Linked DNA regions of Homo sapiens: region 2 is linked to region 1. Evidence: promoter capture Hi-C in human tissues and cell types (Jung and others, 2019). All regions are on one chromosome and are shown on one strand. Each heading gives the region's core, a stretch centred on a gene start or on the middle of the fragment in contact. The rest is flanking DNA. Distances are from core to core; before and after follow the strand shown.

Region 1 (7,846 bases), core at 1,609-4,108:
TTGCAAAATGGCCTACTTCTGTGACCTGAGGTTGAAACCACACCAAACCAAATCCCAGGGGACTGGACACCTTGCTCCACAGGATGCCTTTCAGCCCAGACCACCTCGAGCAATTTTGAGGGTCTGAGGCCATCCTGCTGCCCCAGTGAGCCTCCAAGGACAGCTGGTTCCCTGCTGCTAAGCCAGCCCACTTCCTTTTCTTCTTTTTTTTTCTTGCTTTCGATAAACTCTAAGCATGTGCGTGTGCAGGTGTAGCCTGATTGCCAGGTGTCCCTTCAGCTGTGAAGCGGTATGGTTTGGTTGTTGTTATTGCACAACTCAACTATAGGTCCCCTTTTTCTTTCTATTCTTTTCTTTTTTTTTTTGATGGAGTCTCCCTCTGTTGCCCAGGCTGGAGTGCAGTGGCATGATCTCAGCTCACTGCAACCTCCGCCTCCTGGGTTCAAGTGATTCTCCTGCCTCAGCCTCCCAAGTAGCTGGGATTACAGGCGCCCACCACTACGCCTGGCTAATTTTTGTATTTTTAGTAGAGACAGGGTTTCACCATGTTGGCCAGGCTGGTCTCGAACTCCTGACCTCAGGTGATCCACCTGCCTCGGCCTCCCAAAGTGCTGGGATTACAGGCATGAGCCACTGCGCCCGGCCCCACTTTCTCCAAGTGTGTCAGAACCCCTGGCTATTTTATGGGCTCCCAGATTGGCTGGGCCACACTTGTGTCCCAGAAGGAGGAGGGAGGAGGAGGCCAAGGTGAGGGAAAAAGAGAATAGGGACAGAGGATAAGAGTCTGGGGAGGTGGAGAAGAAGAAAAGGGAGAGTAAATAGAAAGGAGAGAAAATAAGCCAAGAAAAAGGAGGAGAAAGAGGTGCGGAGGAGTAAGAGGTGAAAGAGGAAGAGGAGGAGGAGAAGAAGGAGGAGGAGGGAAGGAAGGAAAGAAGGCATGGCACCCAGCCACTGCACCCCCAGGTCCTTACCCTGTAGTTCCCAGGAGGCAGTTCCGCCGCCTTGGCGCTGGTAATAGGCACGGTTGTTGGGGCCAGGGTAGTGCCGGGACTAGGGGATGTTCCTGCAGGTGGGGCCCCCTTCCCCTTGGTGTCAGGCCCTGGGTTCACCGCCACTGTGGCCGAGGCCGAGGCCTTTGCAGCCTGAGACATGGTTCCCGCCTGCAAAAGTCTGTAAAGAAACTCTGGCCTTCAGGGATGACACCCCCAAACTGCCTCCTGCCCTCATAGCCCCACATCCTGTGCTTTCAGCCTCCTTGGAGCTCGTTTCCTCTCTATCTCCTTCTGAAACGGTTAAGCCTGGAAGTTTTTCTTTCATCCCTACTTCCCAGCCAAGACCTTCCCGTCTGGGGGCCACTCATCCCACATATATCCTTCCTCCAGGCTTTTGACCATGCGGTTCCCTCCACTAGCTGTTCCACCCTCCATTACCCCGCTAGGTCCTTCCTTAGCCCCCTGCAATTTTCCACACTGCTTATCACACTGATTTGCTTGTGCAACTCCAATTTGCCTCCCTAGACTAATAACAAGAAGTCCCATTTGGGAGTACTTAAGGTGTGCCAGGCACTGTGACATACATTAATTAACCCATCTGACCATGAACCTCACCCGATGGAGTAGCTGCTATCATGATCCCCTCTGAGCAGCAGGGGGCTGGAGAAGGAAGGGGCCCAGCTCAGGCCCAAACAGCTACTAAGTGGTAGGGCTCTGATTTCAACTCAAGGAAATGGAGCCAGCAACTGGGCTTTTAAAGTATTCTGCCATTTGCTTAATCTGATTTATTCACCGTCCATCCCTAACACTTGCTCTGCACCTGGCACATAGGAGATGCCCAATTAACATTTGTTCAGAGAATGAATGAATGCATGCTCCCAGCTCCTTTCCCCGTCTGCTTCCTCTGAGGGGTTGGTGTATGGGTGCAAATACAGGCCGGGGACTGAGGCTTATGGGAGGACCCAAGAGGATGTATTTACTGCATGTGGAGGGTTCTGAAAATGAGGACTGGGGCTGGGTAGGCTTTGGGTGGAGAGGGCTTTGGTCAATTCCAGTGGTTCCTTGTTGCTTTGGGGTCGTGGACTCCTTTGAATGTTTGATGAATACCTCAACTTTGTCCCCGGACAAAAATAATGCTCTCTTTAACTTTGGAGACAATGTTAAGGGATTTGAGGACCCCCTGCTAGCACAGATTAAGACCCTCTGGTCAAGCTGATTCCCGAACACATTCTGTAAGGCGGAGCTAGTTGGGATAAGCACATCCCTCCCCCAGCCTCCTCCAGGAAGGCTGTGCATATTCTGGGGTGCCCCCTGTTCACCAGGGGTGAGGCCAGACATCTGGACCACATCTGTGGCTTTAAACACTCCCCCAGGGCTGGCAGCTGGACTCATGCCTTCCTGGAGATATTCTCATTCTCTCTCTCTCCCTGCTTCACCCTCTCCCTCTGTTCCTCCTCTCTTCCCTGTCTTTGCCTCTCTATCTGTTTCTTACTTCTCTCCCTCTTTCTGCCTATCTGCCTGTCTGTTTCTCTCCCTCTCTGTTCCTCTCTCCCCCACTATCTCTCCCTCATTGTATCTTTGCTTATCTCTCTATCTGTCCTTTTTAATTATATTTACTTCTCTCTCTATTTCTGTCTTTTCTCACTCTCTCCCCTCTCCCTCTCCCTCCCTTTCTTCCTCTCTCCACTTCCGTCTTTATCTCCATGGCCCTGCTCTCTGACTCTCATGGCACTGCTATCTCTGCCTCCCTCTCTCTGTCTCCCTTTTCTCTTCCCCTCCCCTTCAGCTCTCAGCTGGGCTGTGGGTTCCCTCTTACCTGGGGACTTGCTACTTCCTGCTGGAGGACAGGCAGGCGGGCAGGTGCTATGGGTGACTAGAGTCCGACCCCCCATTTTATAGTCTGGCAGACATCAGGCCCTATAGTCTGTGGCACAAAGGGGAAGCTGGCTCAGCAGGCCTGGGCAGGGAGTGGGGGACTGGGGCCCTGACCTCGCCTGGATCACTGCAGACAGCAGCACTTTCCTTTGTGAGACCAGCACACACAGCAGAAACCCTGGCCACAGCAGCTTCACCTTCCAACCCTACCCTGACTCCTTTCTCAACAACCCCAGCCAGGGATGGGCCCCCAAAAGGGTCCCTGCTGGCTGCCAACATGGGGCAGGGAAAAGGGGAGACCCTGGGAGGCAGGAGACCAGAGTTTGAATCCTGACTCAGCCACTGCGCGCTGTGTGGCTTTTGGTAGGTCTCTACCCCTAGGGGGGCCTCTGTGTCTGCAATTATAAGGTGGGCACGTGTCCCTGTTGGATGCCATATAGAAAAGAAGGTGACAATGAGCACAGAAGCGTTTTGTAAAGGCAGATGTGGGTTTGATATGGACAGCCTTTTTTACGGAGTGCTTACTGTGTGCCGAACCCGTGTTATCTCGGTCAGTCCCCGGGACAATCTGCCTTATTTGGTACTTTCATTATGCCCATTTCACAGAAGAGGAAAGTGAAGGCACAGAGAGGTCAGAGCCAGCCCAGGCCAGCCAGCTCTGGGCCTGTGTGCTTTCTTCTCCTGCTGTCCAGCCTTGACCTTGGCCTGAGGCCCCCTGGCCTGACTTCCTCTTTGTAGGTTGGGGTGGGAATGGGAGAGTCGCACTGTGCTCAGCTGGGTTGGATATCGGAGACCTGGGTCTTTTTCTTTTCCCCACATTGGGCCCCATCCTTTCCTGACCTATCGACAGTGATCCCTCTCGCCACCCCAGTTCCCCGCCTCTACCCAGGCCACGTTATCTGACCTGGAGGACAGTGCTGGTGGCCAGAAATATGACTGCCTGTCCCAGAGCCTCCTGCCCTGGCAAGCCCCAGATGCCCACCACATCTTGTTCACCACTGGCCCCAGCACCTAGCTGGGCCTGGCTAGGTAGAGCTTGGCACATCATGGGTTCTCAGTCAATAACTGGTGACTCAATGGTGGTTCCAATGGATCGGAACAGAAGGTAGGGTACGGAGGAGATAGGGAAACCAAGGCAAGGAGAGAGAAGTAAGGAGGCAGATAGAAGTAACAGACAAAGAGAGAGGTGGAGACAGAGACACAGAGAGGCACAGGGGACATGGACAGTGAAGGAGCGAGAGACGGAGAGACAGAGGTCAAGTTGGGGTGATCAAGCCTCAGGACGGAGGAACAGACGCCAGAAATCACAGGGCCCAATCCTCCCATTTCACAAATGGAGAAACCGAGGCCCAGGTGGAACAAATGACTTCAACATAGTCACATGGCGGGAACTCACAGTACAGCTGGGGTCAGAAGGAGCCTGGGGAGCTGCTCAGCTAGGTCACCTGCAGTCGGCTCCCCAGTCCCAGGCAGGGTATATTGCGGGGGCATCTGGATAGGCTCCTGTCTCTTCTTTTTCGGGGTTCTAGGCTCCCCGTGGAGCCCAGCTCTGTCTTGAACTCTCCCTGGCCTGGAGCCAGCTTTGCCTCTGTCCCTCCACCACCCAGCACCCCCTCGCTTCCTAGCCTCTCCTTGGCCTTTCATCCTGGGCCAAGACTTGGTGGGTGGGGTGTGGGCAGGAACTGCAAGATGGGGTAGCCACTGGAACTGGGGCCAAGACGCCTGTGGTGAGGGCCCACCCACCAGTCTAGGCTTCAAAGCCAGGTCATCTGGGGCAGTTCCGTGCCCCCCCTAAAGCCCCAGGAATGGGCTGTCTGCCAGAGGGTGGGGGCAGAGAAGGGGGATGGCCCACCATGTTGGTGGCTCCACTCTGAGCATTTATTATTATTATTGTATCCTTCATTATATCTTTTTCTTTTTTGCCCTGTCTTATGGAGCCAATTTATTTTCTTTTCTTTTTTTCTTTTCTTTTTTTTTTTTTGCATTGTCCTGTACTCCTCAGTATAAGGATGAAGTCTCTGGGATTAACCCCAATTACGGATAAGGAAACTGAAGCAACTCCCTTTCCTTCCTCTCTCTCAGCCACTTTCTCATAAAAATGGAAATGTAAGATAAAATTGGAACTCACATCTTCTTTACTCATGAACCCAGGCTCTTAAAAACTATGCACCCCTGCTTTTTGATCAACAATTAATAATAATCATCTTTCTTATTAGCAATGGTGATGATGAAGATGATGGAAATACCACAATATTTTTTATGTTGCAGGAGCAATTCCAGCTGCTGTTCATGTGCTATTCACATTTATCCTCACAATCCCCCTGTTTCTTAGACTAATCCCAACTTACCTTGTTACACCCATTTTACACACAAGTAAACTGAGGCTCAGAGTGCGTAAGTAACATGCTTAAAAGTTACCCAGCCAGCACCAGTGGGATGCAAACCCAGGCAGTCTGGCTGTAGAGGGTGCATTGTTAACCTTTCATTTTCATGCCAACCCTTCATCAAAGTCATGCATTCCTTTTTTTTTTTTTTTTTTTTTTTTTTGAGACGGGGTCTTGCTCTGTCACCCAGGGTCAAGAGAAATGGCATGATCTTGGCTCACTGAAACCCCTGCCTCCAGGTTCAAGCAATTCTCCTGCCTCAGCCTCCCTAGTAGCTGGGATTACAGGCGCCCGCGCTACTCCCGGCTAATTTTTGTGTTTTTAGTAGAGACGGGGTTTCACCATGTTGGCCAGCCTGGTCTTGAACTCCTGACCTCAGGTGATCCACCCACCTCGGCCTCCCAAAGTGCTGAGATTACAGGCGTGAGCCATTGCGCCCAGCCTAAAGTCATGCGTTTGATAGAGCTGCATTTCACCCTCTTAAAAGGAAACTGGTGTGGCCACTTTACAGGTCATGAGCAGGACTCAGGTGTCCTCCAGGTCACACGGATGGTAAGAAAGAAGCAGGGCTGGATTTCATCTCAGATGATCTGGTTTCCAGTCATGCTGTTTTCCTATGCTTGTTACACCCATTTTACACACAAGTATGTATGTATGAGGGACCTCTTAGGTCCCTCATACGCCAATTCAGAGGGCAGGGTTTCGGGACAAGAGGCACACAGCAAATTGTACAAGTCCTGGATATTTGGCAAGTGTGCCACAGTTTGCAAAGCATGTTTGCAACTAACAGCTCCTCTATGCTGCCCACAGTGCCATCCGGATTCATCTTCAGGCTTTGTGGACCCAGCAGGCCCTGGCCTAGCCCTCTTCTCCTGCCTCACTTCCCTTCAGGTCCCCTGAGCTCCAGGCCAATTGGGCTACCAGCTCTTTCTTGTACATGTGCCCCAAGTTCCCACCTCTGAACTTTTTCTTAGAATGCCTCTCCTTCCATCTCACTCTGTACATATCTTCCTCATCCTTCAGAGTCTAGTTCAAATGCCTCCTCTAACGGCAAGCCTATCTGGATTGCTTCAACTGGAAGAGAAAGGGGAAAGAGAGAAGGAAAGGAATAGGCATTTCCTGAATGTTTACTCTGTACCAGGCATGTTATGTAACCTCACAACAACTCTGTGATATGGTTTGTTTCTGCCCCATTTTATAGGCAGAAATTGAGGGGAAATGACTCGCTGGAGCTCACATAGCTAGGAAGGATGCTTCTGGACTCCTCATCTAGTGCTCATTCTCCTGCTCTAGTCAGGAACCTTGTGGGGCTGATGAGGGCCAATATTCCACCTCTCTCCTTCTTCGTGGCTGATCCCTGGGGGTGGTGATCTGGTCCTTTCCCTCCCTGCTAAAGCCAGAGCTGCTGACGGCTTGCCATTGGCTCTTCAGCCAGGGCTGGCTTTTGTTTCTGTGGCCCAGTTGCTGAGTCGGGGCTTTGTCTCCCAGGGGCCCCTCTTCCCTCCCTGCCTATAAGAGCCCGACCTCGGCTGGTCTCAGATCTGACATGTTCCCTGGGCCTATCTCGGTAAGTCCCAGGTTTGGAGGAGGGGTGGGATCAGAGTTCTGAGTGAGCATTCTGGGAGGCGAGGAACCCAGGTCCCCAGTCCTAGGGATGTCACTGTGTCATCCTGAATGCCATCCTCATCCTAACCAAGGATGAGCCCCAACCATCAAGACCAGCACCTGCTTCCCTCATTTAAAAACAAATTATTCCTGTAGCCCTATTGCCTAAATTTCCACCATCAGAGCTACCTCTTTGAGCTAGGTGCTGTCTTTGGAAGGGCTCTCTTATGCTGAGCATTTCAGCACTCGCTGGGGTGATGCACCCACCCACCAGCAGCCACAAAAATTTTCCCATAACAAGCAGATAAGAGAATACAGAGTGGGGCTCAGAGTCAATGAGACCCAGCAAGGGTGAGTTTTGAGATGGGGATAGGATGGAAGATGGCATTGGTGACAGATGGAAAGGACAGGAGAGGGACAGGCCAAAGCCATGCATTGCCCCTAGCCCAGTCACTCCTGGACTCCCTATGTGGATCCTGACCAGGTCCAAGCCAGCCATCTGCATAAAGAGGAGAGCAGAGGGTCAGGGTGGAAGATTATAATGTTCTTCTCTTCTGCAGGAAGGGGCCACAATGACCCTGCAATGCACAAAGTCAGCGGGACCCTGGAAGGTAGGAAGAGGCATGGGGAGGGGGTGTTCAGGGGGTATGGGGAGGGTTCAGGTCCCCATGAATCCTAGGAGGGGGGCATTATAAATGCCTATTTCACAGAGGTGCAATCAAGGCTCAGAGTTGAGAAGGGACTTGTATGTCACATACAGGGAGGTTGAATGTGAATTTGGGTCTTCTGGTTCCCAAAGTTGACCTGTTACACTCTTTGGCAGAGGTTGCAGTCTTTGGGCATGATTTCTTTGACCATCTCTGTGTGTGTTTGTTTGTTTTATAAAGCTTTTGGATTTATCATCAGCCTTTAAAAGCCTGGAAGAACCACATAAAAGTCCAGATCTAGTGATTGTCTTGAGAAATTGGAAGGTCTGGCCTGCATTCCCAC
Region 2 (7,846 bases), core at 4,649-7,148, 49 kb after region 1:
GGTTTGTCTCCTGGGTGATTATTAGCCTGTTCGAGCAGCGTGTTTCTGGGGCATTGGGTCCATTGTGCAGATTCAATGGGCTGGTGAATAACTTGTAGGCCAGTCTTTGTTTCAAGAGGATCCCTTCCCTTGTCTCTGAGGCCTGACTCATCTGTCAGCTTGAGCTCCGAGGAACAATAGCCAGAGATTCTCAAGAGCAGAGGTGAAGTCTGGCTAAGAGTGACATCTGTCTCCCTATCCCATCCCACTCTGATCAGATCAGATGAGGCAGGTGTCCCCTTATCCCTTGTGGTGCCAGGTGGGCCCCTCTGGAAGCTACCAGATGAGTCATGGAAGGGAGGCGGGTGCTGAGCTATTGTATACTCAAAGGTGTGGAGTAGATGATGAGTAGTAACTAACCCTAACTACCACTTTGTTACCGTTTACCAAGGTTCTTGCTGAGTGCTGCATCATGGAGACTCCATGATAAGGCAGGGATTAGGCATTGCAGGTGGGAAACAGGCTCAGAGAGGTGAAGTGATGAGCCCAGGGCCACGCAGCGAATTAGCTGTGCAGTCAGGATGTCAACCCGTATCTTGTTTGACTCTGAAACATGTGTTTGTAACTACTACACTATGCCACTCTCCTAAAAGTGAACTCAATCATTTGCCTACAGACTGTGAAAGCAACCGGCATAAACTGAACAGAGATGATTTATCAATCATGGGCCAGTTTTCTCACAGTAATAGTAATGCAGATGGCCATCGAGTTTGCAGTTTACATATACCTTCCTTGGATCTTTTATCATTTAATCCATATATATATGGATCTATATAGATCCATATATATATATATATATATATATATATATATATATATATATATACACACACACACATATACATGGATCTGCTCTGTCACCCAGGCTGGAATGCAGTGGAGCAATCGCGGTTCACTGCAGCCTCTACCTCCTGGGTTAAAGCGGTCCTCCTGTTGAAGCCTCCCAAATAGCCACAGGCACAGGTACACATAACCACGCCCAGCTAATTTTTGAATTTTTTGTAGAGGCAGAGCCTTGATCTGTTACCCAGGCTGATCGTGAACTCCTGGCCTCAAGCAATTCTCCTGCCTCTGCTTCTCAAAGTGCTGGGATTATGGTGTGAGCCACTGCGCCCAGTCCCTGCCCCTATTTGAATACACCCTCTGCCCCTTTGGGGTCCAAGAGGCCTGTTTAGAATCCTGGTTGCCTTATTTTCTAACTGAACCTCAGTTTCCTCATCTGTAAAGTGGGGATAATAAAACCCAGCTTGTTTTGCCATGTAGATAAAGACACTCCCAATTAGCATCTGTTCTTAATAAGTGTTAGTTTAGCTTTCTTTTCCTTCTTCTTGGTTTTCTTTCCTCTCTCTCCACTGCAGGGGTTCCCATGTTTGAAGGAGATTTGAATTCTGAATCTCCTCTTTTGTGGACATTGTGTTTGAATTCGTAAAGAAACAGCGCTTTAATTCTCCTCTGCAGAAGCATCTGCTTCCCCCAGCATGTCTCCTGCGAGGCGCGTGGCACATTTTCATTATTCTCTGGAGCTTCCGTTATCTCTGGGTGCTGGCTCATCCAAGGCAATTTGGGCCAACATCTCTTGTACGTCTCAGATCTCCGAGTAGTCATTTTATTCCAGAGTCAGGGAAAAAGACCAAAAACCCAGAGGGATTCTAAAATGCAACAAATGTATGTTTTCCTGGCAGCTGCCCATCCATTACTAAGAACAGTACATGCTGTTTAGCGGGAAAAATGAATATCTCATGGGTAGTGTTAATGAACTGTGTGGTCAGTGATAATAATAATAATGATGTAAGAAAATGGTAGAATTCAAGCTAAGTCTCATTCATCTTCTCATTTGATCCTCATGACAACCCTGTGAGGTGGGCACTGTTATTATCCTTAGTTTGTGGATGAGAAGACTGAGGTTCACTGTGGTAAAGGACTTGGTCAAGGTCACACAGTTTGCCGGTGGCAGAGCAGCACAGGAATCCATGCCATAAAACCCATGTTAGGATGTATTGGTTGACACTGGCCTGATCAAAATACCTCCTTGTTTCCTGTTTTGCTTTTGATCTGCATCCAAGGAGATCAGTTTTGGGAAACGCTGTGATTTGAAACAGGACCTTAGCATCTATTCTCCACTGTACCCATGGGTATGTATTTATTCTCTCACTGCTGTCTCTTTTTCTCTTGATGACAGTTGGAGGCATCTGTCCACCCATGTGGTTCCAGACACGTTCATGTGGCCACCATGACCCCGTCGGCATCACAGGGGTAACCAAGGTGATCCTCCCTCTCTTCCTGTGTCCACTGGGGATGGTAGAGACCAGCTTAATGCTTTGAGATCAGATCCATCACGAAATCCGTATGTCCTGAGACCTCCTGAATCTTAAGGTGGGAGAGACTTCTGATGACCCTCTGGGTTCCAGTTCCCCAATCGTGGCTTTCCCGACTGACCTTGGCTTGAAGTGGGTGGTCTGTGTGGCCTAGTGAAAGCTGAGATGATGAGGCCCTGGTGCTCACAACTGGTTCTTTGTGCGGCCTTTGATCTGGCACTTTTTAGTTCCAGTCCTCTTTCATCACATACAAATGAGTTTTACAAAAATAACTTTATTGAGGTATAATTTACATACAAGGAAATGCACCCGTTTAAAGCACACATTTCAATGTGTTTTGACAAAGGTATACACCTGTGTAACCATTGCCACAATCAGGATGTAGAACATTTTCATCGTTCTAAAATGTTCCCCTGTATTCCCTCCCAGCCAATCCCCTCTCAGCCCCAGTCCCAGCCCCAGTCCCAGGAAACCACTGACCTGCTTTCTCAGAAGTAGATTGGATTCTTTTTTTTTTTTAATGTTCCATATATATGGAAGCTTCTGTGTTCAGCTTTTTTTTTTTTTTTTTTTTTTTTGAGACAAGATCTCGCTCTGCTGTTTGGGCTGCAGTGCAGTGGAGCCATCTCGGCTCACTGCAACCTCCGCCTGCTGGGTTCAAGTGATTCTCCTGCCTCAGTCTCCCGAGTAGCTGGGATTACAGGTGTGCACCACCACACCCGGCTGATTTTTATATTTTTAGTAGAGATGGGGCTTTGCCGTGTTGGCCAGGCTGGTCTCGAACTCCTGACCTCGAGTGGTCGCCTCGGCCTCCCAAAGTGCTGGGACTATAGGTGTGAGCCACTGCGCCCAGCTGAGGCTCATACTTCCTGTTGCATGTCTCAGTAGTTCAATTCCTGTTCTATCCAATTTTATTGAGGCATAGTTTAAAAGTCATATAACTCACCCATTCAATGATTTTTAATAAATGTACCAAGTTGTACAACCTTCACCATAAATCAGTTTTGGAACAGTTCGGTTACCCCAGTAAGATCTCTCATACCCATTTACTGTTCATCCACATCCCATCCATAACCCCAGGAACCACAAATCTATTTCTCATCTCGGTAGATTTTCCTTTTCTGGATATTTTGTATAAATGAGATCATACAATATGTGTTCTGTTGAGCCTAGCTTCTTTCCCTCAGCATGATGTTTGTAAGGTTCATCCATGTTGTAGTATGTACTAATAGTTTGTTCCTTTTTATTGATGAGTAGATTCCCTTATGTGGATAAGCCAGACTTTGCTTTTCCATTCATCAAGATAGGGGATTTTAATTTGATCAGTGCTGCCTAACTGTGGTATATACATATAATGCTACAGGATAAATATGGCTTATATTTCTGGAACATAAATATCACACACAGATTTACTTAAAGTTTAAATCATTGAGTGGTGAAAATAATTTTTGGAACATGTACTGTGTGCCAGGCACTGGCTAAGCTTTGAAAATCATTAACTTTGGACAGGTGTGGTGGCTCATGCCTGTAATCCCAGCACTTTGGAAGGCTGAGGCCAGCGGACTGCCTGAGGTTAGGAGTTCAAGACCAGTCTGGCCAACATGGTGAAACCCCGTCTCTACTACTAAAAAAAAAATAAGTTAGCCGGGCGTGGTGGCACACATCTGTAATCTCAGCTACTTAGGAGGCTTAGGCAGGGGAATCACTTGAACCCAGGAGGCAGAGGTTGCAGTGAGCCGAGATCATGCCACTGCACTCCAGCCTGGGTGACAGAGTGAGATCCTGTCTCCAGAAAAAAAGAAAGAAAGAAAGAAAGAAAGAAAGAAAGAAAGAAAGAAAAACAATTAACTTTGAGTCACACATTGAGTACGTAGGAGTGAGAGAGCCACAGTTTCCTCCAGGTTTCTCTAGCCCCAAAGCCCATACCTTCCTTTGTACCCTCTAAGACGGTGTCAGCTAAAGGTCCCTTGAAACCTCCATCACCTTATTAATATCATGACTCTAGGTCCACAGAACGAGGGGAAAGGGTCACTGTGGATCAAGCCAGGCTCCTCTGAGCAGTCCAGGGTCTATTTACAGAGAGCAGCAAGTTCCTGGGACAGAGGAGACAGAAGGGAATTTCCAGGTTCTTCAGGACGTTCACAACCACACTGAGAAGCATCTTTGCAGATAAGTATTTAAACTTACCAGCCCATAGCCTACCAGCCTGCCCTCTTCTGGTCTGTGCAGGAAAGTGTAGTATCCTAGAATGCCAAAGTGGGAGGGGAAATGGGTGATGTAGCTCATTCTCTTTTCTACCTCTATGGAAGAAAGAAAGAGCCTGTCCCCATTTTGTGGGGTCCCAGAAAGGGTGATTTTCACACTTCACATTTGGCGTTAGGGCTAGTATTTCACAAACATTACCGTCTGGAACTTTTGAAGGCTGAGTTAAATGACTTCATCTTGTGTACTTGTAGAACTGCTATTAGAAGGAGGCTGGGGACTCCCTGATGATGTGAACCAGCCCTTCTCTTCTCAGTTTCAGCACTTTGTGATCATATTTATAAACCTTGGACAGGGCTCCTTGGCCTTAGAGTTAAGTGAAGAGTTAACACTGTGACTTTAGATGCATTTTTCTCAGTGTAAGTGTCTGAGCTCATCTCCAGTTCTGGACTCGTGCCCCCACTCCCGGGTGCTGACAGCAAGCTCTGAAGATATGCTGAGAGAGCTCCCTGACTCTCCTGACTCAGGTCTGCCAGTTGATGAAGACAGCACAGTTGTTACCAAAAACAAAACCTGGCAGATGGTCCTAGGTCAGGATTAGTGGTCATTCTCTGGTCTTCTCCAGACTGGTGACACAGGGTGGTCTTAAAAGAGTCCTAGTCCAGCCTCTGGCTCCCCGAATTTCCTCTGGTGCATGGGGCATCAGGAAAGGGCAGGGGAGAAGGAGGGGGAGCAGAAAAATAACTGAGGCTGGGCAGAAGGGTCCCTTCCATTTCCCATCCATTGCTTCAAACAATGGGTGATTACCGTGCACCTTGAGTGAATGTCAAGGCAGGAAGGGTTCCAGGGCCACCCAGTGTGGCAGGAGCAGAGCTGGGATCAGAATTCTGGATTCCTGACTCTCCGTTCAGCTGCTATTCAGCTATCACCAAGCTGCTGAGTTTGTCCTACTTTCTCCTGGGTCACATTCTGCTGTTGTTGGGAAACAGGGAGTGAGTGAAGGGAACCTGGGAACCCTTCTCCCCTCACCTTTTAAGGATGTTCTGGGGTGGAATAAAGAGAGGTGGAGGGTGGGGTGCCTGGGCCCAGCCTCCCTGGCTCCTGGTCCTTCTTTCTTCAGCAGGGAGTTCTGGCAAGGCCTGGGCCTGGGGAGGGGGCCTGGGTGCAGTTTTCTCCTGCGGTGTGGTTGGCTCTTTTGTCTTCCAGGATGGGCCTGTGGGGTCTGTGTGGGGAAGGAAGGAGCTGGGAGCCTGGGCTGCCTGTGTGTCGGCTGGATGCTGCCAGGTAAGCCTGAGAGGGATGTGGGGAGGGAGGGAGGGAGGTCACATGGAGCTTGGTTTCATGGGGGTAGGTTGTCCTCCCACCTGTGCCCCCTCCTCAGGCCCAGAACGCTCCTGCTCATGAGAAGATGGCCAGGGAGCCAGGTGGCTGGAATGCTTGCTCTGTGTGGTCTTGGTGGGGGTGGGTGGGATGGAATCAAGACCATTGTGGGTGAGCTCGAGCAGAGAATTTAGCAAGTCCCTTCATTCAGCACCGGCATGGACCAAGCAACTTCTCTGAGCCAGATGCTGGGGACGCAGAGGTGAACCCAGAGACATGATCCCATCTGCTCAGATCTTCATGTCAGAACACGCTTTATTACAGTCTCGGCAAGGGGGTGAGCTCCTCGTCCTGGGAGCAGTGTGTGTGTGTGTGTGTGTGCGTGTGCACATGTGTGTGCATGCCTGTGTGTGTGTGCATGCGTGCATGTGTGTGCGCGTGTATGTGTGTGTATGCGCGCGTGTGTGTGTATGTTGGGGGTGGTGGTGTGCAGAGATCCTCCCAGTGGGAATGTTGTAAAATGAATTGAAGCCATCAAAGGCCTCTGAAAGTCCTTCCCATCCCCTCAAACCCTTGCCCTGTCTCTGCCCATGATGCTCCTGGAGCTTGCTATGGGCTCCCTTTACTGCTTTTCCTCTGGTCCCCTGAGCTAACCCTGCCTGGTGGGTATTCTCAGCTTTCATTGCTTCCTCTTTTTAGACAACTTTTTTTTCCTTTTTCTCAGAGACAGGGTCTCACTCTGTTGCCCAGGCTAGAGTACAGTGTTATGATCACGGCTCACTGCAGCCTTGAACTCCAGGGCTCAATACATCCTCCCACCTCAGCCTCCTGGGTAGCTGGGACTACAGGTGCATGCTACCATGCCTGGCTTATTTTTTGTAGAGACAGAGTCTCATTATGTTGCCCAGGCTGGTCTCGAACTCCTGGGCTCAAGTGATCCTCCTTCCTCAGCCTCCCAAAGTGCTGGGATTACAGGTGGGAGTCACTGTGCCTGGCCTAAGTTTCTTCTAAAAATGTTTCATGTCCAAAACCCTCACTTCCACCCTGTGTGTGTGCTGGGGGCATGAGAGACTGGGGGGATCTCTGAACATGAGTCCCCTCAGATGCAGAATTAGGCTGGGGGGATGTGGGAAGTTGGGGATGGAGGCTGTGGCCTCATCCTCACTCGCTGTCTTCTCCCCCAGGTGGCTCCATCTGGGCCGCATCTCCAGGACTCCTGGCCTGGACTTCTCTTTGGACCTCGGGTGACCTTGGATTCTGGCCACAGTGACTTAGCGGTCAGACTCCGGTGGTTTTCTAGCCCGCTGGGTGACTCCCTGAAGATCTCATCCTCTTCACACCTGTTGGGATGGAGCCTCCCATGGATAGGAACTCTTCCTGGTTGATGCTCAGCAGATGACTGATCTGGCTCTGGAGGACAGCTCCAGGGGTATGAGGGAGGCCTGGCAGCCCACTACTCCCTCCTCACCTGCTCGGGCCCTGCCTGCTGGGCCCTATTGTCTGGGTCTGGGGGCCCTTTCCTGCCCCATGTGAACTTGATTCCTCCTCGCGTTTCTGCCGGTGACCAGACAGAGCCTGGCCTGGGCCAAGTCCCCACTGACCACACTTTCCCCAAGGCTGGGTCTCAAAGGACCCTACAGGATGGGGACAGGAACAAGGATGGGAGTCGGGGAGGGGCTGTCAGGCAGAGGGCAGATGCAGCTCCTCGGGTGCCGCTGGCTGGAGTCCTTTGTCTCCATTTGCTCAGTGCGTAATTGTCATTTTGTGGGGGACTTCCTTGGTGGGGCTTTTCCATGCTTTTCCTCTCCCTGATGGTTACAAAGAGGAGACAGTCAGGATCTGGGAGGAGCTGGAGCCTTCCCCCTGTGCTGTTGAACTCTGGGAGGGGCAGCCAGAGGGGCTGAGAGTGCACCATCCTGAAAAGAGAGGGTCTTTAAGAGATAAGATTTAGGCTAGGGAAATTCACTAGA

The links. The method cuts DNA at HindIII sites, captures the fragments that hold promoters and counts their contacts. A contact is called where the count stands out against the background at its distance.
Region 2: a fragment that was not itself captured here is called in contact with the fragment with the promoter of CRYBB1 in region 1 in 1 of the 25 tissues and cell types used here (thymus).

What each region holds. Positions count from the first base shown.
Region 1 is chr22:26,615,169-26,623,014 of GRCh38, forward strand. It overlaps CRYBB1 (crystallin beta B1), which reads right to left and starts at 2,859. Exons shown (of 6, transcript NM_001887.4): 1 at 2,809-2,859; 2 at 972-1,170. The coding sequence starts at 1,151. CRYBA4 (crystallin beta A4) reads left to right here and starts at 6,795. Exons shown (of 6, transcript NM_001886.3): 1 at 6,795-6,818; 2 at 7,417-7,467. The coding sequence starts at 7,429. RefSeq lists enhancers at 1,913-2,590, 3,269-3,944. The HindIII fragment of the contact is 18,434 bases long and covers 1-7,846 here.
Region 2 is chr22:26,661,098-26,668,943 of GRCh38, forward strand. MIAT (myocardial infarction associated transcript) reads left to right here. Exons shown (of 5, transcript NR_033320.3): 2 at 2,219-2,301; 3 at 4,434-5,840; 4 at 6,088-6,213; 5 at 7,061-7,846. Among named protein-coding and RNA genes, the nearest start is that of MIAT, 7.4 kb to the left of the region's middle. RefSeq lists enhancers at 1-967, 4,036-4,536, 6,896-7,479, 7,480-7,846. The HindIII fragment of the contact is 5,066 bases long and covers 3,366-7,846 here.